Linked DNA regions of Homo sapiens: all the other regions are linked to region 1. Evidence: promoter capture Hi-C in human tissues and cell types (Jung and others, 2019). All regions are on one chromosome and are shown on one strand. The core of a region is centred on a gene start or on the middle of the fragment in contact, and the rest is flanking DNA. Distances in the headings are between cores, read along the strand shown.

The links. The method cuts DNA at HindIII sites, captures the fragments that hold promoters and counts their contacts. A contact is called where the count stands out against the background at its distance.
Region 2: a fragment that was not itself captured here is called in contact with the fragment with the promoter of RAB36 in region 1 in 1 of the 25 tissues and cell types used here (lymphoblastoid cells).
Region 3: a fragment that was not itself captured here is called in contact with the fragment with the promoter of RAB36 in region 1 in 1 of the 25 tissues and cell types used here (stomach).
Region 4: a fragment that was not itself captured here is called in contact with the fragment with the promoter of RAB36 in region 1 in 1 of the 25 tissues and cell types used here (IMR-90 fibroblasts).
Region 5: a fragment that was not itself captured here is called in contact with the fragment with the promoter of RAB36 in region 1 in 3 of the 25 tissues and cell types used here (IMR-90 fibroblasts, heart right ventricle and lymphoblastoid cells).
Region 6: a contact is called between a fragment that was not itself captured here and the fragment with the promoter of RAB36 in region 1, in 4 of the 25 tissues and cell types used here (bladder, dorsolateral prefrontal cortex, hippocampus and 1 more).
Region 7: a contact is called between a fragment that was not itself captured here and the fragment with the promoter of RAB36 in region 1, in 1 of the 25 tissues and cell types used here (dorsolateral prefrontal cortex).

Annotation. Positions count from the first base shown.
Region 1 is chr22:23,143,807-23,147,588 of GRCh38, reverse strand. It overlaps RAB36 (RAB36, member RAS oncogene family), which reads right to left and starts at 2,112. Exons shown (of 11, transcript NM_004914.5): 1 at 2,038-2,112; 2 at 904-984. The coding sequence starts at 972. It also overlaps a transcript of RSPH14 not described here. RefSeq lists a silencer at 2,290-2,359. The HindIII fragment of the contact is 15,551 bases long and covers 1-3,782 here.
Region 2 is chr22:22,669,381-22,673,162 of GRCh38, reverse strand. It overlaps IGL. Among named protein-coding and RNA genes, the nearest start is that of GGTLC2, 27 kb to the right of the region's middle. The HindIII fragment of the contact is 4,680 bases long and covers 1-3,782 here.
Region 3 is chr22:22,702,051-22,705,832 of GRCh38, reverse strand. All of the region lies in intron 2 of LL22NC03-102D1.18 (a long non-coding RNA gene), which reads left to right. It also overlaps IGL and IGLV3-22. Among named protein-coding and RNA genes, the nearest start is that of LL22NC03-102D1.18, 7.7 kb to the left of the region's middle. The HindIII fragment of the contact is 8,195 bases long and covers 1-3,782 here.
Region 4 is chr22:22,722,130-22,725,911 of GRCh38, reverse strand. It overlaps IGL. Among named protein-coding and RNA genes, the nearest start is that of LL22NC03-102D1.18, 12 kb to the right of the region's middle. The HindIII fragment of the contact is 4,264 bases long and covers 1-3,744 here.
Region 5 is chr22:23,559,584-23,563,365 of GRCh38, reverse strand. No RefSeq gene overlaps it. Among named protein-coding and RNA genes, the nearest start is that of IGLL1, 19 kb to the left of the region's middle. The HindIII fragment of the contact is 9,054 bases long and covers 1-3,782 here.
Region 6 is chr22:23,534,326-23,538,107 of GRCh38, reverse strand. It overlaps LOC124900476 (endogenous retrovirus group K member 5 Gag polyprotein-like), which reads right to left and starts at 1,227. Exons shown (of 2, transcript XM_047441690.1): 1 at 972-1,227. PCAT14 (prostate cancer associated transcript 14) reads right to left here and starts at 6. Exons shown (of 4, transcript NR_109832.1): 1 at 1-6. RefSeq lists enhancers at 1,041-1,657, 2,273-2,889, 2,890-3,505. The HindIII fragment of the contact is 4,075 bases long and covers 116-3,782 here.
Region 7 is chr22:23,514,881-23,518,662 of GRCh38, reverse strand. No RefSeq gene overlaps it. Among named protein-coding and RNA genes, the nearest start is that of LINC02557, 3.4 kb to the right of the region's middle. The HindIII fragment of the contact is 4,353 bases long and covers 1-3,782 here.

The DNA of each region.
Region 1 (3,782 bases), core at 863-3,362:
GGCCCGGGTGGGAGGATTGCTTGAGGCCAGGGGTTCAAGACCAGCCTGGGCAACATAGCAAGACTTCATCTCTATTAAAAAAAATTAAAAATTAGCCAGGCATGGTAGCACATGCCTGTGGTCCTAGCTACTCCGGGAGGCTGAGGCAGAAGGATTGCTTCAGCCCAGGAGTTAGAGGAGTGAATTATGATGGCACCATTGCACTCCAGCCTGGGTGACAGAGCAAGATCCTGTCTCTAAAAAAAAAAGAAAAAAGAAACAGAATGGCTGGATCTTAGAGGGCAGGGTCATCTTCTATATTGGTAAATATTGTCCACTGCCCCCTATGGAGGTTGTACTCAATTTGTATTCCCTGCTGCAATTAATATTGGATTTTAATACAGACACAAGAGAGCTGTGAGTTTTCAAGCTCATAGAGGCGGAATGGCAAGAGGAGAGAGCCCTGGATTTGGGGTCATGGAACTGGAATGCTGTTTTGATAACAACAACGATGATGAGAACAACAGCAACTATGACTGCAGGGGAGCTCCTGCATACCATGAGCCAGGCACCCAATATGAGAGGAATTACCTTCATGTAACAGTGGCTCTGAGAGGTTGAGTAATTTGCCCACAGCCACACAGCTTAATGACAGAATCAGAATGAAGGATTCACATCAAGGACTGTCTGGCTGCAAAATCCCAGCCCTTATAACCTCCAGGCCACACTGCTGCCCAGTGTCACCATTAACTTGCGGTCCCACCTTGGGCAGTCAGTGACCAGTCTCCCAGCTCCTCAAGGTAAATCTGACAATGGACAGACCTCCTTGATTCACCTGCTTTACTTCTAGGCATGAGTGTAGAGTGGGGAGAGCTGATGTGGCTGCAGGGCCAGGAGAGCACTGCAGACGTAATGACTCTCTACCTTAGGGAAGCTGGCGATGACACGGTCGCGGCTCACAGGGGGCCCCAAAGGTGTCAGGGAGGACCTCATTCTTCCACAGTCCTGTGGACCCAACCAGGAGAAAGACAGTTAAGGAGCTGTGCAAATACCTGGGGATTCACCCATGAGTTTCCACCTAACTTTTCATCAGATCCAGGCTGGGTGCAGTGGCTCATGCCTGTAATCCCAGCACTTTGGGAGGCCAAGGTGGGAGGATCACTTGGGCCCAGGAGGTTGAGACCAGCCTGGGCAACAAAGTGAAACCTCAGTCTCTACAAAAAAAAACCAAAAAAATTAGCAGGGCATGGTGGCCTGTGCCTGCAGTCCCAGCTACTTGGGAGGAAGGTGGGAGGAATGCTTGAGCCTGGGAGGTCAAGGGTGCAGTGAACCGTGAAGGTGCCACTGCACTCCAGCCTGGGTGATAGAGTAAGACCTTGTCTCAAGAATTATAAATAAAACCAGATCCAGGCTTCCCTCTCTGTCAGGAATATGGGGCAGAGGCCATTTCTCTCAATCTGCATACAGCAGGCAGCATGGTATGGGGGAACCAGGCCTGCCCCACCCTGCCTGGGAGTCAGAAGACCTGGGTCTCCCCTTGACAGGTGTCTACCAAGGAGGAGCTCCCCTCTGAGCTTACCTTACTGGGCTGTGAGGCATGGCACAGCTCAGGCAGTGGAAGTAGAGTGGGGAGGGGTCTCCTGCTCCCAGTCTGCAAAGGACGAAGGCTCTAGGTGGGCCTGGGGGCCTTAACTTTCAGCCAACTAGGCCTTTTCCCTGAAAACCCTCACTTCACCAGGCCTCTGACTCCTCGAGCCTCCTCAACAGCCCCTCTGTCTCCTTTTTCTGTCCGGACTCCTCTCCAGGCTGGGCTGGGGTGGTCCTGGCGGAGTCCGGTTGTCTTCCCGCATCTGACCTGGCTCTCCTCCACAACCAGCGCGGGCCTGGCCCAGAGTTTGCGCTCCGGAAATGAGGACGCCCCGGGGCCGCAGGCCGCTTTCAAGTTATAGGGGCGGGAAGTGGGCGCGGACGCTGTGCCCTCGCGGCCCTGGCCTCGGGATGTGCCAGCACGGGGTTGGGTGACCGGGAGGGTCGGACAGAGTGGGCGAGCTGACTCACCAGCGATGGCTGTGAAAGCTGGGGCTCCGCGCGGCCTGGTCCGCCTGAGCCAGCGGCGGCGATCACCATGGCAACGAGAGCCACGCGGGACCTGCGGGCTACACGAATCGTCGACGTCGTGGGCGGGGTCTGCGTTGGACTGGCAGCGGCGCGTCCAAGCATCCAGCTTGCACCGGCGATCACCATAGCAACGAGAACCTGCCTGGAGTCTGGGCGGGGCTGGCAGCAGAGAGACTCCTGGACACCCTGGAGAGCCGGAGATCACCATGACAACAAGGGCGGTGCTGGATGGGTGGGCGGTGGGCGGGGCTATGGAGGCCCGGGGGCGGAGCCTGAGCCCTGGGTGGGGCTGACCGTGGAGAGATTCGCGCAGGTTCTGGTGATCAGCTCGGCTGGGAGAGGTTGGGCGGTTATGGCATAAGAGCTCCTGATGTGGTATTGATGTTTAATTGGAGTCAAGCACCCTGCAGCTGCAGAAGATAGACCTGCCTACCATCTACTGACCTTAGTCTGCATAGTTCTGAATCCAGTGCTGTCTGAATATCATATGCCTGGCTTCTAGAGCTCACGGTACAAAATTAATTTCCTTAATAAAAAGCTGACCTGAGTCAGTGATTTCCTCTGAACTAGTTTCGGTTTGGAAAGTTAGCTGTTTTGGGCTAGATGGCCTCTTGTGGCCCTTATAAAACCGTGGAACCAGCTTCGAAGTCCGGGGTTCAGTTTGAGAACCTACTTAATTCAGCTCCTTAACTTTTCTGCATCACAATATGGAAGCCTTGGTACACAGATCTAACTCAGTCATCTTCAATTCAAAGCTAAGTGTGCTGGAGGCTGGTGTTTGATGTCTTTTTTTTTTTTTTTTAAAGAGATGGAGTCTTGCTATGTTGTCCAGGCTGGACTCGAACTCCTAGGCTCAAGGAATCCTCCCGCCTCAGCCTCCCCAGTCCTTGGGACTACAGGCAAGGGCCACCACACCTGGCTCTGTTTAATGTCTTTTAGTGAGTTTCACTGCTAAGGTTGAGGCTTAGGGGGTGAACTTAGGTGAGTTGTTCCACCTTCCGCACCTCAGTTTACTCAACTATAAAATAAACGCAACTATCTATTTCAATGGATCACCTGAGATGGTGAAAGTGCTTTTATACTGTAAAGCTTGATTCAAGTCCATTAACTATTCATTTGTCCTACATGTACTGAAAGCTTCCTGGTATATGCCTAGCACTGGGGAGACAAGGAAAGAGAACGGACATGGTGTCCACCCTCAGGGAAATTGGAGTCCACTGCGGGAAGCAGAGAAGTAAATAGAGAATTAGGGGAAGGGAGTGTGCCAATGGGATTTAGGAGAAGGGAAGATTAAGCTGTGGGGTCACTTACTAATTTGGATTTGGGGATTTGGCAGGAGCTAGAGATCACCCTGAACTCCTCCTTTAGCTGTTTTTTTTTTTTTTTTTTTTTTTTTTTTGAGATGGAGTCTCACTCTGTCGCCCAGGCTGGAGTGCAGTAGTGTGATCTCGGCTCACTGCAATCTCCGCCTCCCGGCTCAAGCGATTCTCCTGCCTCAGCCTCCCGAGTAGCTGGGACCACAGGTGCGCACCAACCATGCTTGGCTAATTTTTAAATTTTTTTAGTAGAGATGGGGTTTTGCCATGTGTGCCAGGCTGGTTTTGAACTCCTGGCCTCATGTGATCCGCCGGCCTTGGCTTCCCAAAGTGTTGGGATTACAGGCGTAAGCCAGCACACCTGGCCCC
Region 2 (3,782 bases), core at 876-3,375, 470 kb after region 1:
CCAGGCCACGGTGGAGATGCCACATAGCTCTGTCTCTGAGCCCATGGCTGGGGAGGGACCTTCAGGCCTCTCTTATCATGGGAAGGAGAGGCTCTTCATGCAAATCTACTTCTTTTATTCTTGTATCCTTGTTGGGTGGGCTCTCTGATGAGCAGTGAATGCAAATCTACTCCTCATTCCCCAGTGTGCCTGTCCTAGCTCCCATCTGAGCCCTGAGCCTTAAGTCTTCAAACTGATAATGTGCTAAGGTCAGAAGAAGGACCAGATGGGTGTCAGGAGTGGAGAGTAAATTTTACCCAATAGAAGGGGCCTGGGAGGAAGCATCTGTGATGCTCTTCGCTCTTGAGCACTACCAGCGGACTTGGTGTCTTTCAGAGTCCTCAAACCAAGGTCCACAGTGCCCCCTCTGCCCACAGGACCAATGTCATCCTCTACATATCACTAGAAAATTCATAATAACCACTTCTGAGACCATAGTGTATGCCAGATACATTGCTGAGTGTTTTACAAGCATGACCTCAAGAAGACTTTCATCATATAAAAAAGGAAGATGAGGAATCCTGTGCTCAAGGCCCGATCTTTACTATGGAATTAATATTGGGCGGTTAATTGTTTTTCCCCAAGTCCCCAGACAGCAGTGAGTGGAGTCAGGATTCCACCCAGGAGATGACCTCAGAGCCTGAACTTCCAGCCCCTCCCTGCCCCACCTCCTGCACCCTGCTCCATCTCCTCCTCCTCCCGCATCCAAGGTCTTTGGGGTCCCTTTTGTTTTCATTTGCTAGTGCTACCTTAATGAGATACCAAAGACCTGCTGGCCTAAAGAGCAGACACTTATTTTCTCACAGTTCTGAAGCTGGGGAGTCAAGATGAAAGTGTTTATAGGTTTGGTTTTCACTGAGGCCTCTCTCCTTGGCTTGCGGGTCGCTACCTCCTTGCTGAGTCCTCACACGGTCTTTCCTCTGCACGCTCATCTCGAGTGTCTCATTTTTGTGTGTGCAAATTTTCTCTTCTCACGAGAACACCAGTCAGATTCGATAAGAACCCACCCTCATGACTTCATTTTCACTGAATCACCTCTTTAAAGATTCTCTCCAAATTCAGTCACACACCGTGCATTAGAGCTTCATTGTATGAACTCTGGGGGACACAATTCAGCCAAGAACTCTCCAACCTATGGACCCAAAAACTCATGTATTTTTCACTTGTAAAGCGCATTCACTCCATCCCAACAACCCAAATCCTGAACTAACTCAGCACCAACTCTAAGACCAAACTCTCATTTAGGTATAATCCAACTCAAGTGTGGGTGTTTCTCCAGGATGATTCCTCCTGAGGGTTTAAAGGATAACAGCTTTAGGGGGTTTCACCTCCTCTCTCCTGTTGTCATCTGGGTCTTCAGAAAAGTCAAAGCTCCCACTTTATTTGCTATGATTGGAAGAGAAGAGTGAGTCAGCATCAGCGACATCTGTGAGTTAGATGTGGGGAAGTCACAACTGTCCACTCTTGAAATAATTTAAATACCCATTAATTGAATTTATTAATCATTAGTCATGGGATATCTTTGCCACTGTTTGAAAAAAAAAAAACAGAGCTGATACAGATAATAGAACAAAAAATATCACAAGTTAAGTTGTTCTAAGGGCAGAAATGTCCCTATTAAGAAAGATAAATCACAGACAGAAATAGTCAAAAGAAAACTCACCTCACATGCATATTAACCTACTATTTCCAATGTTAACATTAAGCATCCACATTTGATATGCAAATAGAGACTCTCCTAATGTTTATACAAAAGTGCATTATGTTTTCTGTCTCATATTGACGTTCCCTTTCGGTTCCCTCCTTGGGTGAGGGTGATCTTTGACTGTGGTGAAGAAGGGTGTTCCATGAGATGTTCTCTTATACCTAAATATATATATAGACATATAGAAGAGGGTAATTTACAGCATAAACATAGTTCCACCAAAAAGGTCCTGTTCTTTTCCTGGCAACTTTCCTTGGGGTCTTTATCGTTTAACATCTCAAACTCTTTTCCTTATCCCATTGTTAAATTCTGAGTTTTAGAATTTTTGTGGATTATAAAAATAATGAATGCATTAAAACTTAAACTATGTTTTTATTTGTCATCCTCAGAACCTCTATGGTCTCTTGTGGTTTTGGCTTCAGTCAAATGCTGATATTAGGACCCTTTTCTCTGAGCCTGCTGCAGTGGATATTCCAGCTTTGGTACAAGCTTCCTTGCCCACTTGCTCCTCCCCCTCTCTCTGATTTTCCACCCTGGATAGTGTATTCCTGATATACTGTCACACTCCCAAAAATCACAGTAAAAGGACGGACACAAAAGTTATGAGTTTATGACACAGGGCTATCACAGATAGACCCAAAATCCATCCAAAAAATAAGAAAAGTGTGTTCTTATCTAGAGAGAAATCTCAGGCCACTATAGGCGGTGAAATACAGTATTACCCACAAAAAGATCTCCACCTAAAATATATGCTGGTGAAATTTTTAAACTTCAAATGACCCTACAAAACAGGGACCATTAAACCACATCCTGTGGCCACCCCTGGCCTGCCACCTGTTTTGTGTGGTCCCAGAGCTGAGAGTGGTTTTTATAGCTTTAAATGGTTACATTGTAACTGGAGTTATAAGTTCCCTCATAATATGGTCAAAGTTGACTCTTGGCCCACAGGGGCTAAAACCCTCCTTACCTGGCCATTTTAGAAAAAAGCTCACTAAATCCTAAAATATAAGAGCCCTGAAATGTTTGAGAAAATGTTCAACCTCAAGCAGAATAGGAGAAATCCAAAATAACACTGTTACAAGACAACAAAATTTTAATCTACCATGTTGGCAAAAACCCAAACTTTCAACAGCATACTCACGTCAAAGATTTATGGCTGGCACTGTAAATTGGTACAACCCCCCCGTGAATAGGAATCTGAGAATAATCAGTGAAAATTACAAACGTACTTCTTTTTGACCTAACAATTCAACTTCTAGAGATTTATTCTATGGTAATCTTCATAGGTGAACTCCAAGGAGTCTGAATAGGGATGTTCATTGCAGAATTATTGTAAGATCAAACTCTTGGTGACAACTCTGGGCTAGTTGGTTAAAATACGTGTGATGGTCTTTGACATGGGCATCAGCACAGGGGCCGTACACTTTCTTAGTTAACACCAGAGATGCCTTTTGTCTAGGGCAATGTTTTCCCCAGTACTGAGGCAAAGCTCTTCTCACTGGTAAATCTCACCCACTTTAACTCGGGCCTTTCTTCATGGAGCGGAGGAACAGGCACTATTCTGATTGTGCATGTGTGTGCACATGGATGTGTGTGTGAGCTCTATGGAGTGTTTCCTCAAATGTCTTTGAATGGTTATTTTCTCTATCACAGAAGGTTTCCTCCCATGCACATGCTCATCGGTGCTCATGAATATCTGCAGACTCCAGAGTGCGCTCCCTGTGCAGCTCTCTCCTCTTTGATCCTCTTTCTTCTAGACAGTATTTGGTTTGTTTGTTAATTTGTGAACTCCCTGCAATCCTACTCTGAGAGGGAGAATTCATTGCAATAGGGTTTCAGGAAATTTTGTCAGAAAGAAAATTGTGAGAGGCATGACTGGGAATGTGTTACACCGGAGCGCTCAGCAAGAGACACTTCGTGGTTATTTTAAATGAAAACATGGCATTAAAATCTAGGGACCAGGCAGGCATTGCACCTGAACCACACTGTGAAGGGGGAACATCACTGGGAGAGCAGTTCTCTGCAGCTCAGTGGCATT
Region 3 (3,782 bases), core at 793-3,292, 440 kb after region 1:
CCACATCTCCTTCAGGACTCCAAAAACCTGGTATGTCAGGCTCCATTTTCATTTTATAAGAATACAAGGAACACTCAGATATAAATGGGCATTTGGATGTTCACAATGGAAATTTGGGAAATTCGCTGGTGTTTCCACCTCAGGTCTATGGTAGTTTATTTTGGTGATAGCCAGCCATCTTAGTTTGGGTTTCCTGGAAGTAGACTCTGAGAAAAAGATGTGCATGCACAGAGGATCTGGAAGGAGTGAGGGAGGCATCGCCCACCAGAAGGAGACCCTGACCCACAATAGGGTTGCAACTGAGGCCTCAGGCATCCATACTGGGATGTCTGGATCTGGAAGGCCTTTCAGTGTCATCCTCTATTAGGACAGGGCCTTGGGTTCTTGGCTCAGGCAGTCATCAAACCAAAACTCTCAAAACTGGGCCTAAATATGAGGAAGGAAGTTTTCTTTGGAGCTAATAGCACTTCCCAGTGAGGGCACAGCTCTGAGCTCCTAGAAGCTCCCAGCAGTTGAGGTTGGGTGAGCTCAGAAAAGGGTATTGAGGCAGATGCCACAGTGTCCCCTCCTTGGCTTTTCCTGTTCAAAATCCCAGGCTGCCATGGAAGCCTGGAAGCTCAGGTGTTGAGCTGAGGTGGGTATTTTTCGGGACTGATGTAGGATATTTTGAAGAAGGAGTGACCCAATCACCATCGTATGGAAATCTAAGGTCAAGTGATGGTTCTCTACATCTCTTTCATCTTCCATCCAGTTCTTATTTCCCCAAGTCACTCATGAGGCCCCAAAACACCATAAATTCTGATTATAGCAGCCTTAAATCCACTCCTGCTCCACCCTCTGCAGAGCCAACCTGGACAGCTGGAAAAAAGGATGGCCTGGAGGTCTCAGATCCAGTAGAACTTGGCCAGACCTGCTCATTGCTTGGTCCACAGTCTTCCTGGTGCTGGAGGAAGAACACAACACAGATGAAAAAGGAGTTTGTGTCTCACTTCCCCATCTGCCTGTGTCACTGAGGGATTGTCCTCATCCCCAGACAAACAGTAATAGTCAGCCTCGTCTTCGGTCAGGACCCTGCTGATGGTCAGGGTGGTCGTGTTCCCTGAGGTGGACCCAGAGAATCGTTCAGGGATTCCAGGGTACCGCTCACTATCTTCGTATATCACCAACTCAGGGGCCTGGCCTGGCTTCTGCTGGTACCAGTCAGCATAATTTTCCCCCAGTACATCTCCAGAGCAGGTGATCCTGGCTGTCTGTCCTGGGGACACTGACACCGAGGGTAGCTGTGTCAGCTCATAGGAGGCAACAGAGCCTGCAAGAGAGGACAAGAGAGGGGGCTTGAAGATAACAAACCCATTCCAGTAGTATCGCCCTGAGGCTATGCCTGGGCTGAGCTCAGGGTTCAGGGTAAGACCAGGGGCTTAGGAGGGCTGAGCCTGGGGCAGGGTCTGGGGGCAGCACCTGTGTAGAGGTTGAGGAGTGGGAGCAGGAGTGTGGCCCATGCCATGGTGAGACACCCACAGCTCTGCCTCCTGAGCCCACAGCACAGCTGGGCTTCCCAGGCCTCTCTTATTTCCTCTCAGGCCCACTGGGGCAGTGCATCCTTGGTGTTTATGCAAATTTACTTCTCTGGGACTCCTCATGGCGGGATATCCCTCAAGCCAGCTCTGGGGGCAGCATGAGAAACTTAAAATGAAGGGGTGAATCCCCAGCTTCCTTCGTCTGCTTCTCCAGTCAGAAAATCAGCCTTGGCCTCCAAGGCCTGTGATCACAGTCACCGTCCTGGGGATTGACAACATGGTCCCTGTCTCAAACCTCTGTGTCATGTGGCCTGTCCTGGGCTGCATTGAGCAGGACTATGGACCTTCCAGGAGCCTGGCCTGGGGCTGAGCTGGGCCCTGTTGAGAAATCACTGATGACGCCTGACTCAGCAGCAAGTACACCAAAGATGCATCATCTTTCTCCTCTTTCATCCCTGCTCCGGATACCCCCGAGTCACTTGGCCCCATCCTGGTAATGTTATGTACATGATGTACTGTGTCTGTAGGACACTTATGAATCATTGCAGTTGGAAGAGTTTTGTCATTTGAGCAACCACACATATTTCGGATGCATCCCAATCTCTAGTCTCATTTGACATGTGGTGCTGCTCTTTCCATGGTATCCCCCAGCCCCACAGTAGACCAGCAATTGCCATCCTCAACTCTTCCTTTATTTATTCACTTTTTCTCATCAACGTTTTACGTAAACTTGCGAAAAGAACCAGAGAATCACACTGGACTGAAAATCTAACTTTAGGCTGCTTGGTCTTTCTGAGGGTCCCCAGGTCATGGTCTCCACACAAGACATGAGCTCCAGAGAGCATGTGGTCAGTAGTCCCTCCAGCCATGCAGATCCTGCCACTGATCAAAGGACAGCCCCGTGGTGAGAGCTGTGGCCTGAGGCAGGTGAGAAGCCCTGTTCCTCTGGACAGCATCTCCTGAAGGAGGCTGGTGATGCCTCATGCAGGGACCAGGGCCCCAAAATGCTTCACGCCACCCACCTGAATCTCCCCTGAGCACAGGAGCTGCGTCCTGAGTCAGAGTCCACCTGGAGCTGGAAGGAAAGGCAGAGGCAGGAGGGGTCGGGTGTATCTGGAAGTGCCCACGATAGAGGGCTCAGCTCCCCAGGACACTGCTGGACAGGGAGGGACAAGGCCCTGAGAGTGGCAGGAGGCTCAGGCCGCCATCCTGGGTGAAGAACCTGGGCCCTGGGAGCCCTGTCACCTCACATTGTGCCCCTCCTAGAGCACCTCGGCCTCAGGACTTCTCCCAGGGAATCCCCTTCCTAAGGAAGCTGCCCAAGCTGACACCTGGGCCCAGCCTCTTCTAGTTGCATTTCCCAGGTGAGGCCTTCACTGTGCCGGGCTTCTGTCGGTGTCCTTGGGTGACACTGTATGAATCTGACCCTCAGAACGTGGTCACTGCAGCCCGAGGGGATAGGATGAACTGTCTTCATTTTCAGTCTGAAGACTGACTCTTGGACACCTGTTGAACCCCAGGCTGGCCTTCCTCTTCGCCCCAGCTGGGCAGCCCCAGCCTCTCTCCTCACTGCTCCTGGCTGCAGCTCTGCTGCCCCCAACTGGTGGAGGAGACTCAGCCCAGGAGCTTTCTTCTTCCAGGTGACCCCACAGCACCTGTCACCTCAGAAGTTGAGGACCAGAGAGTCCAGCCCCATTCTGTGCCAGTGTGACCCAATCTGCCCTGCCCAGCCCAGCACAGAGAGGTAACACACGCAGTTCAGTGGGGTGGGGCAGGTGCAATTGCTATAGAAGTGTCTCAGGGTTGAAATGCCCTCCTCTAATGGTTTTGTTCAGTCAGGTCTAATTAGAGTGAGTCAACTGAAGCTCTTCTGCAACACTTTCAAAGTCCAGAGAGATGTGCATGCCATCCTACAGGGACCCAGGCTTTCTATGCACTTAGGAAGCAAACTGGTGCACCTCCCACCCAGTAAGAGCAGCTATGATTCACTGCAATCACCAGGTTTCTGGTTCTGCAGCTTAGTTGTGAGCTAACATCACCATCATAGGCACATTAATTTCATGTTTATCTTTATTTCATTCCACACCTCTCAGAGCTTGTGCCAGGAGGATTTCTACCCTAGCCTTGTCTGTCTTGCTGATGAAACTAGGACTCTCCTGCTTATACTCAGCTGGAGATCACTGTTCCCATCATACAGAAAGCAAGCCCTTTTGAGTCCCTTTCTTGGAATCTCTGCAGAGGAAAGACAAGAAGTTCCATGTCTGA
Region 4 (3,782 bases), core at 363-2,862, 420 kb after region 1:
CCTTCTGCAGCCTCAACTTCTCTGGCTCCAGCAATCCTCCCATCTCAGTCTCTTGAGTAGATGGGACTACAGGCAGTGCCACCATGCCTGGCAAAGTTTTATAACTTTTGGTAGAGATGGAGTTTCATCATGTTGCCCAGGCTGGTCTTGAGCTCCTGGGATCAGACAAAACTCGCAGCTCGTCCTTCCAAATTGCTGGGATTATAGACTTGAGCCACCATGCCCAGCCAAAAGGTTGAAACATTTTCTAAGTTTGAAAACAAAGTTCATGTTATTTAAATACCTGTTACTTAAAATTTGGAAGACATGTTAACACCATAGAAACCCAGAGCCTGCATTTTTAGATTAGTAACCTGTAGATGTTTTTCATTCCTTCTAAAGTTGAAACAATAAATATTTTGTATTCAGATAATTCTTGATAACAGAAGGTAACTATTTAATTTTTCACTTAAAAGAAATGCGGTTACTTTGAAAAGACATTTGGTTAAGGTAAGTCAGATAAATTTCTGTTTAAAAAATAACTTAAGAAAAATAATGCTCAAAGAGCAGCGGTCATGGGATTTATCCCAGAGAGAGGAAGTGGATCTTGTTCTGCTTGTGATAGCAAAAGTGTATGGATCAAGATTATTCTATAGGGTTATAGATTACAAGATAGCATAACATTTTATTTTAAAAATGAAGACAATTTTTGGTACATGTATTAAATGTAAGAGAATGAACAAGCAGCTTAAAAAATGAACTTCTCATGCTCACTTTTGGGGGATATTATGGGATACAAACAAGTGCAGAGAGCAGTGTGAGGAATAAAATTCTCATCCTGGCTTAGGAATAAAATTCTCCTTCTGGCTTAGTGTGGGCAGAACCTCACAGTCTCTGAGCAACCCCACGATGTGGTATGGTTAGGGCATGGCCCCTCAATACAAAACGTGTTCTCATTTAGTGAGAATCGAAATAAAAAAAATACTACTAACCTCAACACCGAATGATTGGTTCATCATTTGATAGACCCTGTGACTTTATAACACATACAATTGTGTTATCATTCTATAAGGTTTATCATTTGTGACATTTAAAACAAGAATAATTTCAAATTTGAAGTGAAAGAAGTCCTTTAGAGAAATACATTTCAAAATACAACCCCCTATCTATCTATATCTATATCATCTATGATATCGGCCATTTTCATATTGCAAAAAGCAAGGGCATTCTTCTAGGCCTTCTAAATGTTATAGGATCACACAGACATTGACACAATGGCGATAGACACAGATAGATGTTAATATTATTTGGAAAACAGTTTCATTTCTAGTGTGATGAACAAATGATTAAGGTGTTGGTGGTCTTAGGCATTATTTCCCACTAGGGTCCATATTTTTGCGTGTGAAAAATAGTTACTAGAGGGAGAGCAAAGACAGAGCACTCTCATTGTTCCCAGAGAATCGGACTAGAGAAATGTGAAGTCACCTACCTTCACCAGCTTTGCATTTTTTGTCTTTTTGATCATAGCCATTCCAGCTAGGGTGAGATTGTATCTCACTGGGGTTTTGATTCTCATTCCCTCACTAATTAGTGATGTTCAACATTTTTCTCGTATGCCTGTTGGCCATTTGTATATCTTCTATTGAGAAAAGTCTCTTCAAATTCTTGGCCCATTTTTAATGATATTATTAGTTTTTTTATGCTAATGAGTTATTTCAGTTTTTTTAAAATTTTCATACACTGAATGTTAGGCCCTTGTCAAGTGAACAGTTTGCAAATATTTTCTCTCATTCTACATGTTGTCTTTACTCTGTTGATTGTTTCCTTTGCTTTTCAGGAACTTTGTAGTTTAATGATGTCCCATATCTCTATTATTTGTTGTTGCCTGTGCTTTTGAAGTCTTGGCCATATAATTTTTTATCTAGAACAATGTCCTAAAGAATTTGTTCTTCCCCTATGTTAAGTTCCCTTCTAGTAGTTTTATAGTTTGGGGTGTTATATTTGGGCCTTTAATCCATTTTTAGTTGATATTTTTTTGTGGAGAGGATAAGTGTCTAGTTTCATTGTTCTGTAGATGGGTATCCAGTTTTCTCAGCACCACTTATTGAAAATTGTGCCATTTTCTCAGTGTACATTCTTGACATCTTTGTTGAAAGTCAGCTATATATAGATATATGGATTTATTTACGGGTTTTCTATTTTGTTATATTGGTCTCAGTGTCTGATTGCATGCCAATAACTTCCTGTTTTGGTTACTATAGTTTGTAGCATATTTTAATTCTAGTAGTGTGATATCTTCAGCTGTGTTCTTTTTGCTCAGTATTGCTTTGGCTATTCAGCGTCTTTTAGGGTTTTATACCAATTTTAGAGGATTTTTTATTTCTGTGAATAATATCATTGGTATTTTGATAGGAATTGCATTGAGTTTGTAGATTGCTTTGGGTAGTAAGTTTCTTCATTTAATATTTTCTAAATGTAACTCCACTGATTTAGGCTTGCATTACTTCTAATAAGAAATCAACTATTACCTGGGGATGGTTACTGGGTAAGAAAAAACTAGTTAGAAATAATCAATAAGGCCTACTATTTGACAGCACAACAGGATGACTATAGTCAATAACAACTTAACTGTACATTTTATAAAGCTAAAAGAGTGTAATTGAATAGTTTATACTACAAAGGATAAGTGCTTGAGTGAATGAATACCGAATTTTCCATAATGTGGCTATTTCACATTGCATGCCTGTTTTGAAACATCTCGTGTACCCAATAAAAATATATGCCTACTATGAAGCCACTAAAATTAAAAAAATTTTTAAAAACCAAATTTGTTCTTGTCATTTTGTTGTTCACCTGTATCTCTCTCTCTCCCTTTCTCTCTTTCTCTCTCTCTCTCTATCTCTCTCTCTCTCTCTCTGTGTGTGTGTGTGTGTGTGTGTGTGTCTTTGGGACATGTTAAACTTTTTGGAATAGGAGGTTTCTAGTTTTCACAAAATTTGGGAAATTTTGGTCATTGTTCCTTTAAATTGTTTTTCTGCCTTTTCTCTTCCCTGTCCAATCTTACCTCCTTTAATGACTTTCATTATACCAATTTAGGCAGTTGAAGATGTCCTAAAACTCACTGATACTCTGTTTACGCTTTTGTGCTTCGTCTTGAATAGCTGCCATTGCCATATCTTCAAGTTCACTCATCTATTCTTTCACAGAATCCAATCTGCAATCAGTCTCATTCAGTGTATTTTTTATTGCAGACATATTATGGATCATTTATAAGAGTATAACTTGCGTCTGTCTTTATATGTTTTATGTATCCACTTAATATGATTTTTCAATCTTATATCCTCAAGAACAAGTAGAATAGAATAGAGTTATAAGAATTTCTTTCATATCCTTGCCTACAAGGTCTATCATGTGTGCAATTTTATTGCCATTTGGGATTGATTCACTTCTCTGTTTGATATAGCATATATTTTCTGGTTACCTTGCAGGAAATATTGACAGGATGAAGGCATTGTGCATTTTTCCTGCTGGGTTGAGAATTCTTTTGCAGTTCATTCTCTATTTCTGTCTTTTATTGTTGAATTCAGTAAAGTTACTTTACTGTTCAGAAAAACAGTTTGAGTTTTCTGTTTGCTTTTACACTTTCATAGTTGAGACCTGAGCAGCATTTTGTCTAGGGTGACTTTTTCCCCAGTACTGAGGCAAAGCTCTTCTGATGAGTCAACCTCATGCCCTGTAAGTCAGGCCTTTCCTCTGTGACTGTAGTGTGTGAGTGTCTGTGAGTGCGTGGGTGGGTGTGTGTG
Region 5 (3,782 bases), core at 446-2,945, 420 kb before region 1:
AGGTCTGAAGAACACATCTGGCCGGTTTCTGGGATTCCTGTGACTATAGAATGTGCCTGCTGACAGGGGCCACTGAGAGAAAATTAACCATGGCACCTCAGGATCAAAACCCTCTGGTCGGCCTGTGCGGTGGCTCACGCCTGTCATCCCATCACTTTAGGGGGCCAAGGAGGGGCAGACCACTTGAGGTCAGGAGTTCAAGACCAGCCTGGCCAACATAGTGAAACCCCGTCTCTACTAAAAATACAAAAAAATTAGCTGGGTGTGGTGGTGGGCACCTGTAATCCCAGCTACTCAGGAGGCTGAGGCAGGAGAGTTGCTTGAACCTGGGAGGTGGAGGTTGCAGTGAGCCGAGATCGCACCACTGCACTCCAGCCTGGGTGACAGAGCAAGACTCCATCTCAAAAAAAAAGAAAAACAAGCTAACAAAAACAACCATCTGGTCTCTGGGCATGGTGGCTCACACCTGTAATCCCAGCACTTTGGGAGGCTGAGGTGGATGGATCACATGCAGTCAGGAGTTCGAGACCAGTGTGGCCAACATGGAAAAACCTCTTCTCTACTAAAAATATGAAAATTAGCCAAGCATGGTGGCGGGCGCCTGTAATCCCAGCTACTCGGGAGGCTGAGGCAGGAGAATCACTTGAACCTGGGAGGCAGAGGTTGCAGTGAGCTGAGATCGCGCCATTGCATTCCAGCCTGGGCAACCAGTGAAACTCCATCTGAAAAAAAAAAAAAAAGAGCTGGGATCCTGATTTTCATCCCCAGCTCCCTGGGGCAGAGCAGGTTGTGGCTGGGCCCACCTGAAACCTACCCCTCTAGAGGAATGATACCTTCACCATTAATCAGCAGACAAAATGTGCCATGGGACAGGCTCAGGCAAAGCCAGTCTCCTTGGCAGCGTCCTTCCTGCACATCCCCTCACTCTCCACCCCCACTTCTCGGAGGAAGGGGGGTTTCCAGGCTGGGGCAAGTCCTCCTGCTCCCTCCATCCATCTGATCCTGGCTATGCGTCTGGCTGTCCGACCATCCTTCTTCCTCCCTGGCAGGTGAGCCATTAAGCTCCAGGTCCCCAAAGCACCAGCCTGCAACCTCAGCACTAAGTGCATTTGCTGCCATTAGCAAGAAGCCTTGGCCAGGTTAGTCCAGTCTAATGCACAGGCCACCTCATCCCTACTCCCTGGGCACTGCTTGTCAAAACTCCATCCATTGAGGAATAACAGAACCTGAGAAGAAAAGATGGGGGCTCCAGGACCCAACATGGACAGTCGTGTAGGTTGCTCACTGCACAAGTGGAGCTGCAATTCAGCCAGTCCTCCATTTGCCAGGCTGAGGGCCCTGGCACAGGCTGCGTCCTGCACATGGGGTGGTGCCCTTTTCTAATCCCTTCCAAGGTGCTATAGGGGAAGAACCATGGCCTGTGTGGGTTGCGGGAAGAAACTACCTGAGAACTCGAGTCACCACATCTTTTTTTTTTTTTTTTGGACAGACTCTTGCATTGTCAGCCAGGCTGGAGTGCAATGGTGCAATCTCAGCTCACTGCAACCTTTGCCTCCCAGTTTCAAGCCATTCTCATGCCTCAGCCTCCCAAGTAGCTGGAATTAGAGGTGTGCACCACCACACCAGGCTAATTTTGTATTTTTAGTAAAGACAGGGTTTCACCCTGTTGGCCAGGCTGATCTCAAGCTCCTGACCTCAGGTGATTCACCTGCCTCGGCCTCCCAAAGTGCTGGGATTACAGGTGTGAGCCACCGTGCCTGGCCGCTACATCATTATTTTCCAAGTTGCATTTTGATTAAATTCCTTTTGGAGTACAGTTCTATGAATTTTATGACAAGCATCAATTTGTGTAACCATCACACTATCAGCATCCAGAACAGTTCTATCATCTGAAAAGGCTTCCTCTTCCTATCTTTTTGTAGCCACGCCCTGGCCTCACCCCTAACCCCTGGCATCCACTGATGTCCATCTCTATATTTTGTCTTTTGGAGTGTGTCATATAAATGGAATTGTGTAGTGTGTGATCTTTTAAGATTGGCTTTTGAGGGAGGTGGGGGGGTCAGCCCCGCGCCCAGCCAGCCGCCCCGTCTGGGAGGGAGGTGTGGGGGTCAGCCCCCGGCCCAGCCAGCCGCCCCGTCCGGGAGGGAGGTGGGGGGTTCAGCCCCCTGCCCAGCCAGCCGCCCCGTCCGGGAGGGAGGTGGGGGTGTGAGCCCCCCGCCCGGCCAGCTGCCCCGTCCGGGAGGGAGGTGGGGGGGTCAGCCCCCCGCCCGGCCAGCCGCCCCGTCCGGGAGGTGAGGGGCGCCTCTGCCCGTCCGCCCCTACTGGGAAGTGAGGAGCCCCTCTGCCCGGCCACCACCCCGTCTGGGAGGTGTACCCAACAGCTCATTGAGAACGGGCCATGATGACAATGGTGGTTTTGTGGAATAGAAAGGGGGGAAAGGCGGGGAAAGGATTGAGAAATCGGATGGTTGCCGTGTCTGTGTAGAAAGAGGTAGACACGGGAGACTTTTCATTTTGTTCTGTACTAAGAAAAATTCTTCTGCCTTGTGATCCTGTTGATCTGTGACCTTACCCCCAACCCTGTGCTCTCTGAAACATGTGCTGTGTCCACTCAGGGTTAAATGGATTAAGGGCGGTGCAAGATGTGCTTTGTTAAACAGACGCTTGAAGGCAGCATGCTCCTTGAGAGTCATCACCACTCCCTAATCTCAAGTACCCAGGGACACAAACACTGCGGAAGGCCGCAGGGTCCTCTGCCTAGGAAAACCAGAGACCTTTGTTCACTTGTTTATCTGCTGACCCTCCCTCCACTATTGTCCTATGACCCTGCCAAATCCCCCTCTGTGAGAAACACCCAAGAATGATCAATAAAAAAAAAAAAAAAAAAAAAAAAGATTGGCTTTTTTTTTTTCACTCAGAATAATCATTTTGAGCTCTGTCCAAGGTGTTGCCTGGATCAATTCTTGGCTCTTCTTTATTACTGAGTGATAGTCCATGGTATGGATGGACCACAGTTTGTTTATCTATTTGGGTTGTTTCTAGGCTATGACAAATAAAGCTTCTATGAACATTCATGTATGTGTCTTTGCATGGACCTAAGTTTTCATTTCTCTGGGATAAATGCCCAGGAGTAGGTTGGCTACATCATACGATATGAATATGGTTCACTTTTTAAGAACATGCCAAACTGTTTTCCAAAGTGGCTGTATCATTTTGCATCCTCAGCAGCAATGCACAAGAGTTTAAGTTGCTCTGCAGACTTGTTAGCTTTTGGAATTATCAGTATTTTTTTTTTAGCCATTTAAGGATGCGGGGAGTGATATCTCATTGTAATTTTGACTTTTATTTCCTTGGTGGCTAATAATGGTTGAGCACCTTTTTATAGGTTCAGTTGTCATCCCTGTATCTTCTCTGAGGGAGTGTCTGTATGAGTCTTTTTTCCACTTTTAATTAGTTTTTTTTTAACTGTTGAGTTATTAGAGTTCTTTATAATTTCTGGATACAAGACTTTTGTCAGATAAGTGATGTGCAAATATTTTTTCATAGTTCATTCTCTTAACAGTATCTTTCTTAGAGCAAAAGTTGTAAATTTTTATGAGCTGAAAATTATCAATTTTTTTCTTTATGGATTAGGCTTTATTGTCATATCTAGGAACTCTTTGCCTAACACCAAGTCCCAAAGAATTTTTTTTTTTGAAACATAGTCTTGTTCTGTTGCCCAGGCTGGAGTGCAGTGGGGTGATCTCGGCTTACCACAACCTCCACCTCCCAGGCTCAAGTGA
Region 6 (3,782 bases), core at 904-3,403, 390 kb before region 1:
TATCTCAGGCTGTCTCAGTGGGGGGAAGCCTTGGACAATACCCAGGCTTTCTCGGGCAGAGGTCCCTGTGGCTTTCCGCAGTGCATCGTGCCCCTGATTAATGGAGAATGGAGAATGGCGATGACTTTTACCAAGCATACTGCCTGTAAACACATTGTTAACAAGGCACATCCTGTACAGCCCTTGATCCCTTAAACCTTGATTCCATACAGCACATGTTTCTTTGAGCACAGGGTTGGGGCTACAGTTACAGGTTAACAGCAGGTCAAGGCAAAATAATTTTTCTTAGTACAGCTCAAAATGGAGTTTATGTCTTCCTTTTCTACATAGACACAGTAACAGTGTGATCTCTCTTTCTTTTCCCTACACAAACAGCCGCGTGGCCCAGCCAGGTCCATCCCCTTGGCAAAGTCCCGCTGGGTCCCGGGTGCTGGGGTCCTGCCCTGTTCGGCTGTGGTGAAAACGCCTCCTTCTCTCTGGGTCCCCAGAGAAAACCCCTGCTCTCTCCACTCTGCAGCCTCAATTACAAAGACGAACACACATACGCCCCACAGATGTGCACACACACACACATACACACACAGCAGGAGCTGCGGGAGGAAGCCAGGCAGCCAGCGGGGACCCGGGAGGGTGGAAACACCACAAGAACCAGGGGCTGGTTTTCTTTTATTGTATTAAATAGTTAGGCAGACAGTAGGAGAAATACACAAGGAAAGGCCAGGTGCCCCGAACCCAAGTCCAGCGCCTAAAATCCTGCCATTCATTTCCAAGTCTCTCGTGGGCCCTCTCCCTCCTTCTCTCTGCTCCTCTTTGGGGCACACCTGTGCTCTATGGTCTGCATGGAGGGGACCCTACCCTGAAGGGGTGGCCTGCCCCTCCACACCTCTGGGTGTTTCTCATCAGGTGGAATGAGAGACTTTACTTTTAGTTTGCCCCATTAACCCTGGCTTCTTCCGAGCGCCCAAGCTTACCACAAGGCTCACTGTAGACGTACTCGGGAATCTCTCGTTGACTTGTCCTCAATGACCACACTCGAGAGTCCCTTCACCCTAGAGAAAAGCATCCACGTTGGGCACCAGATGGAGTGGCCTGCGCCTCCACAGCTGTGGGCATTTCTCCTCAGGTGGAACGAGAGACTTGAGAAAAGAAAGACAACAGAGACAAAGTATAGAGAAAGAAAAGTGGGCCCAGGGGACCGGCGCTCAGCATATGGAGGACCCGCGCCGCACCGGTCTCTGAGTTCCCTCAGTATTTATTGATCATTATCTCTACCATCTCGGAGAGGGGGATGTGGCAGGACAATAGGGTAATAGTGGGGAGAGGGCCAGCAGGAAAACATGTGAACAAATGTCTCTGCATCATAAACAAGGTAAAGAAAAAAGTGCTGTGCTTTTGATGTGCATATACATAAACATCTCAATGCCTTAAAGAGCAGTATTGCCGCCAGCATGTCCCACCTCCAGCCCTAAGGCAGTTTTCTCCTATCTCAGTAGATGGCATATACAATCAGGCTTTACACCAAGACATTCCATTGCCCAGGGATGAGCAGGAGACAGATGCCTTCCTCTTATCTCAACTGCAAAGAGGCCTTCCTTCCTCTTTTACTAATCCTCAGCACAGACCCTTTACGGGTGTCGGGCCAGGGGACAGTCAGGTCTTTCCCTTCCCAAGAGGCCATATTTCAGACTGTCACATGGGGAGAAACCTTGGACAACACCTGGCTTTCCTAGGCAGAGGTCCCTGCGGCCTTCCGCAGTGTTTGTGTCCCTGCTTACTTGAGATTAGGGAGTGGTGATGACTCTTAACAAGCTTGCTGCCTTCAAGCATTTGTTTAACAAAGCACATCCTGCACAGCCCTGAATCCATTAAACCTTGAGTCAACACAGCACCTGTTTCTGTGAGCACAGGGTTGGGGCTAGGGTTACAGATTAACAGCATCTCAAAGCAGAAGAATTTTTCTTAGTACAGAACAAAATGGAGTCTCTTATGTCTATTTCTTTCTACATAGACACAGTAACAGTCTGATCTCTCTTTCTTTTCCCCACACTAGCCAAAGGCAGTCCTTGTCCCACAGGGGCCCAGGAAGAATGTCCTAGTAGATGGCAGTGGCAGAGGGAGGCCCTAGAGGTACAGCAGTGGAGGGGACATGAAGCTGCTCCTGAGCTGGACCTGGGCGTCCTCTAGTTCATCCCAGTGTGGGGTTTTGAACTGTGCACTCTGTCAGCAAAGAGAATTTGGAGACAAATAGAAGAGGGGCTCCAAGGTAGTGGGAGAAGCTCAAGTGAGCATTTACTCAACAGCCTCCACCACCAGAATCTTTCTCAGGGGCTGAAGATGTGGTGGGTGGCACACAGCGTCACACAGGACACACAGGTCCTGCGGAGGAGACGCGGTACCATGAGATACGAGGAAACACAGACGTCAGGAGAAGACAGTGGTGGAGAGCGAAGTGCTCCAGGCCAGAGCCTGTGGCCTCCAGCTCCCCTTACAACAGCCCCCAGAGGCCGCCCCCAGTTTGTGGGTAAGGAAGCTGAGGCCCGAAGACCTGAATCAGTGACCAGCAAACATCGAGGCAAATTTGAACAGAGGCTCAGCCTCAGTGGGCGGCTGCGAGCTGCTGAATTGTGACTGAAGTGGCACACAGGGACAGGGACGGTGCTCAGGGCCGGCCTCTCATAGGGCTTTTGAGCTGGGGCTCGATGGACCAAGTCTTGGCTCTGGGCTGGGCACACGGCTTTTTGGCAGGCATCTCACTTCTGGGTAGCCTGCCTGTGGCTCCATTCTAGCGACCAGGAGCCTGAGGCCCACAGAGCTTACGGAGCAGCCTGAGTTCTCAGGGCTGGGGAGAGTAGCCAGGGGCTCAGACCTCGCCGTGCCATGCTGGCCCGTCCACCATGCTGCCCTGTTCTCACACGGCCAAGTGCTCCCAGCACACAGGAGGAGTCCAGGCGGGAAAGGGATGGAGGATGAACGTGACCAGGCCTTGCCTTCGGAGGGGTGAAGGTCTTCCCAGTGTCCCCCAGCCCCCCTGCCCACTCCCAGAGGGACGGCCCTGCAAGCGGTGGCCACCAGGACCTTGCAGGGGGTGAGGGTCCAGGCTGCCGAGGAACCAAGGAGAGGCCGCCCTCGCTTCCCACATGCCCGGGCCCTGGGTCCCTCAGCCTCCCGCTGGCCTTGCCACCCAGCTCTCACAGACACTGGCTCAGGAGCAAGCAGGAGACCCCTGGGGTGACCTGCCAGACCTGCTGGGCCCAGGCTCAAACCCTGCAGCCACTCCCGGCCTGGCCACTCCACCATGTCTCCCAGCCCCATCTCCCTCTTGAGGGCCACGTCTCTGGGTTTTGTGAGGCTGAATTCTTCTCAGCTCTCAGGTGTTAAGACTGTCTCCTCAAAGAGGCCTTCCTGAGCCCCCGCTCCATGACTATCCTGCCAGCATTCTCTCTTCCTCGGGTGGCTGTGGGTTTGTTCCTGCCCAGGTGGAGTGGGCTACTTCCCGCCACGCTGTCCCTCTACCCTTAGGATCCAGGGCAGACCAGTGGGGGCGGGGGGAGTTTCGCCGCAGATGCTAGTGACTCCAGGGGACAACCCAGGTCCCTTCCCCTCTGGGGTGCTCTGAGTCCTGAATTGACTTGGAATGTCCAGGCCCAGCCCTGGCTCTGGGCCCTGCTAGATCACTGGTGGGTCTTCTCCAAGGAGCCAGGCCCCAGCCTAGGCCCACCCTTCCAGTGACGTGAACAAAGGGAGGGTGGGGGCTGCTGTCTGGAGCAGGCCTGGAAGGGGAG
Region 7 (3,782 bases), core at 906-3,405, 370 kb before region 1:
GCTCAGCAAATCCTCAAACAAGCACGTTAATGACCCTGTTTTATAGGTGGAGAAGCCGCCACTCCGAGAAGGGAAGTAAGTTGCCCAAGGCCACACAGCCAATTAGCAGAAGAACTGGGATTAAACCAGGCAGGCCTGTGCAGCTCTAAAGACCTCGCTGTAACCTTAGGTTCCTGGCCCTCCCTACTGAGCTCCTCTGAGGCTACCAAACCAGTGTCTGCAGTGACAGCATCTTTAGCCTTCCCTGGGGCTGCTGGGCTAATAGGGCCTTAATAAAGCCAGCAGAGGCATCTGCAGCTTTGCAGGGCAGGAGCTGAGGGGCCTGGTGCAGAAGATGTGTCCTGATGAAAATATCAGGTGGGGAGGGGGAGGGGACCATGGGGTGAGCCGCCTGCTCATGTCTCCAGCTTCCTGACCTCTGTGGCTGAGTCACTGGAAGCCTCCAGGTGCAGGGGACAATCAATTCCATCACTCATTCCATCCATGTTGGCTTACTTCCTTTCATCCATCCATCCATCCATCCATCCATCCATCCATCCTCCCAATCACTCATCCTCCCTCCCGTGCTGCCATGCATCCACCCATCCATGAATCCACTCAGCTACCCATTCCTTCCCTCCTTTCCTCCTTTCATTCTCTCCTTCCTTCTGCCCATCTGTCCATCCAGTGTTTACTGAGCACCTATCTTGAGCCAAGCCTTATGTGACGTGCCCAGGTTCCTCCCTCTGAGGGACTCACATTCTCAAAAGGATGCAAAACAACTAACCCCAAGTGCCCAGGGCCCTAGGAGAGGAGAGGGCATCTCAGGGGCTCTGACACTGGGCTCTGCACACCTTCCTCAGCCAAGGCCGCCAGGTGACCTTGGGCCGATCACACTCCCTGGGGACCTCTCTTCTACATATTCAAAAAAGGGTGTGCTTGTCCATTCGGCTGTTATGACAAAATACCTTAGACTGGGTTATTTATAAACAAATTTATTGTTCACAGTTCTGGAGGCTGGGAAATCCAAGATGAATGTGCCTGCAGATTCGGTGTCTGATGAGGGCCGTTTCCTCATAGATGCCTTATAGCCTTGTCCTCACGTGGTGGAAGGGGTGAGCAGGCTCCCCAGGCCTCTTGCCTAAGAGCATGAATTCCATTCATGAGGATAGAGCCCTCATGACCTAATCACCTCCCAGAAGCCTCACCTCTTTTTTTTTTTTTTTTTTTTGAGACGGAGTCTCACTCTGTTGCCCAGGCTGGAGTGCAGTGGCGCGATCTCAGCTCACTGCAAGCTCCACCTCCCGGGTTCACACCATTCTCCTGCCTCAGCCTCCCCAGTAGCTGGGACTACAGGCGCCCCCCCACCATGCCTGGCTAATTTTTTGTATTTTTAGTAGAGATGGGGTTTCACCGTGTTAGCCAGGATGGTCTTGATCTCCTGACCTCGTGATCCACCCACTTCGGCCTCCCAAAGTGCTGGGATTACAGGCGTGAGCCATTGCCCCAGGCCAGAATCCTCACCTTTTAATACACATTGCAGATAATGGTGTTTTTTTGTTTTGGTTTGGTTTGGTTTGGTTTTTGTTTGTTTGTTTTGAGACAGGGTCTCCCTCTGTCACCCAGGCTGCAGTGCAGTGACCTCATCTTGACTCACTACAGTCTCGGCCTCCCAGGTTCAAGCAATCCTCCCTCCTCAGCTTCCCGAGTAGCTGAGATTACAGGTATGTGCCACCACACCTGGCTAATTTTTGCATTTTTTGTAGAGACGGGGTTTCACCATGTTGGCCAGGCTGGTCTGGAACTCCTGACCTCAGGTGATCCACCCGCCTCAGCCTCCCAAGGTGCTGGGATTACAGGCATGAGCCACCAAGCTTGACGCAGATTATGTCTTGACATACGAATTTTGGGGGGAGGGGGGTCAGGTCATGGTAAATGTGGTGCATTGTGATGTCTCCTATTCTGTATTTCTACAATCCCAAACAGGTGAGTAAGAACCCAACTAACTACTCCCCCGAGCACCCATTCCCACCCCGGCCTCTGGGATCTGCCTCCAACACCTGCAGGTTCCCCAGATTGAGGTCCAGGTCCGCTCCAATTGACCCAGACAAGCTGCGGTGGGACCTGGCAGAGGTGGGGGCCGGGGCAGAGCACTGGACTCAGAAGCAAGAGGCCAGGGGCGGGGTCTGGCTCTGTCCTGTGATGTGTGACCCTGAGGAAATGGCATTCCAGAGCTCAGATGAAATACCTTAGAGACTCGGGAAATGTCAGCTGTTGGGGGCATTACTGTTATAATTATTGCTGTCATATTGTTGCTACAAAAGAAGCTGGTTAGAGCCACTGGCTTTGGGAGGCATCGTTCATTCGGTGGTTACCACTCGTTCACCCACTCACTCAATAAAAATTTATTACTGTGGCTGGGCATGGTGGCTCACACCTGTAATCTCAGCACCTTGGGAGGCCGAGGCGGGCGGATCACCTGAGGTCAGGAGTTCGAGACCAGCCTGGCCAACATGGTGAAACCCTGTTTCTACTAAAAATACAAAAATTAGCCAGGCATGGTGGCGGGCACCTGTAATCCCAGCTATTTGGGAGGCTGAGGCAGGAGAATCGCTTGAACCCTGGAAGCCGAGGTTGCAGTGAGCTGAGATTGTGCCATTGCACTCCAGCCTGAGCAACCAGAGCAAAACTCTGTCTCAAAAAAAAAAAAAAAAATGGCCAGGTAAGGTGGCTCACGCCTGTAATCCCAGCACTTTGGGAGGCCGAGGCGGGTGGATCATGAGGTCAGCAGATCGAAACCATCCCGGCTAAGACGGTGAAACCCCATCTCTACTAAAAATACAAAAACTTAGCCAGGCATGGTGGCGGGTGCCTGTAGTCCCAGCTATTTGGGAGGCTGAGGCAGGAGAATGGCGTGAACCCAGGAGGCGGAGCTTGCAGTGAGCCGAGATCGCACCACTGCACTGCAGCCTGGGCGATAGAGCAACACTCCAACTCAAAAAAAAAAAAAATTTATTACCGTGATCTGTGCCACGTGTTGGGCCCTGAGCCAAGTGCTGGGGAAGATACTAGGTAAGACAGGATCCTGCCCTCCAGAGAGGGCGTTGAACAGGTAGGTGTCACCTCGATTGCCAGGTCCCCATTTAATAGAGGCTGTGTTGAGGATTCTGAGACTACATCTCGGCTTAGAGGGAAAGAGTGCTGTGATCAATTAGTAATGTCTGCCACATTCACAGGGAGAGGAGTCTACACTAAGGCATTTCCTGGCCTTAACACTAAAGAATAGGCAGGATTGGCCGGGCGCAGTGGCTCACGCCTGTAATCCCAGCGCTTTGGGAGGCTGAGGCAGGTGGATCACGAGGTCAGGAGATCGAGACCTTCCTGGCTAACACAGTGAAACCCCGTGTCTACTAAAAATACAAAAAAATTAGCCAGGCGTGGTTGCAGGTGCCCGTAGTCCCAGCTGCTGGGGAGGCTGAGGCAGGAGAATGGTGTGAACCCGGGAGGCGGAGCTTGCAGTGAGCCAAGATCGCACCACTGCACTCCAGCCTGGGAGACAGAGCAAGACTCCGTCTCAAAAAAAAAAGAATAGGCAGGATCTCAGACAGGAGACCCTCGTGACTGTGTGACTGTGGTTGCCTGACACACGACCAGAGACAGCAAGTCATTGACCTACTGCTTGCCTCGTTTTACCTGTTTGCGAAGCAGAGATGCCAACATGGGACTCACTGCATTTTTAGAAGGAGCTAGAGCTGGACAGCCCAGCCTTCCTGTTTTAACCCAGCCTCCTCTGGGCTGGAGTG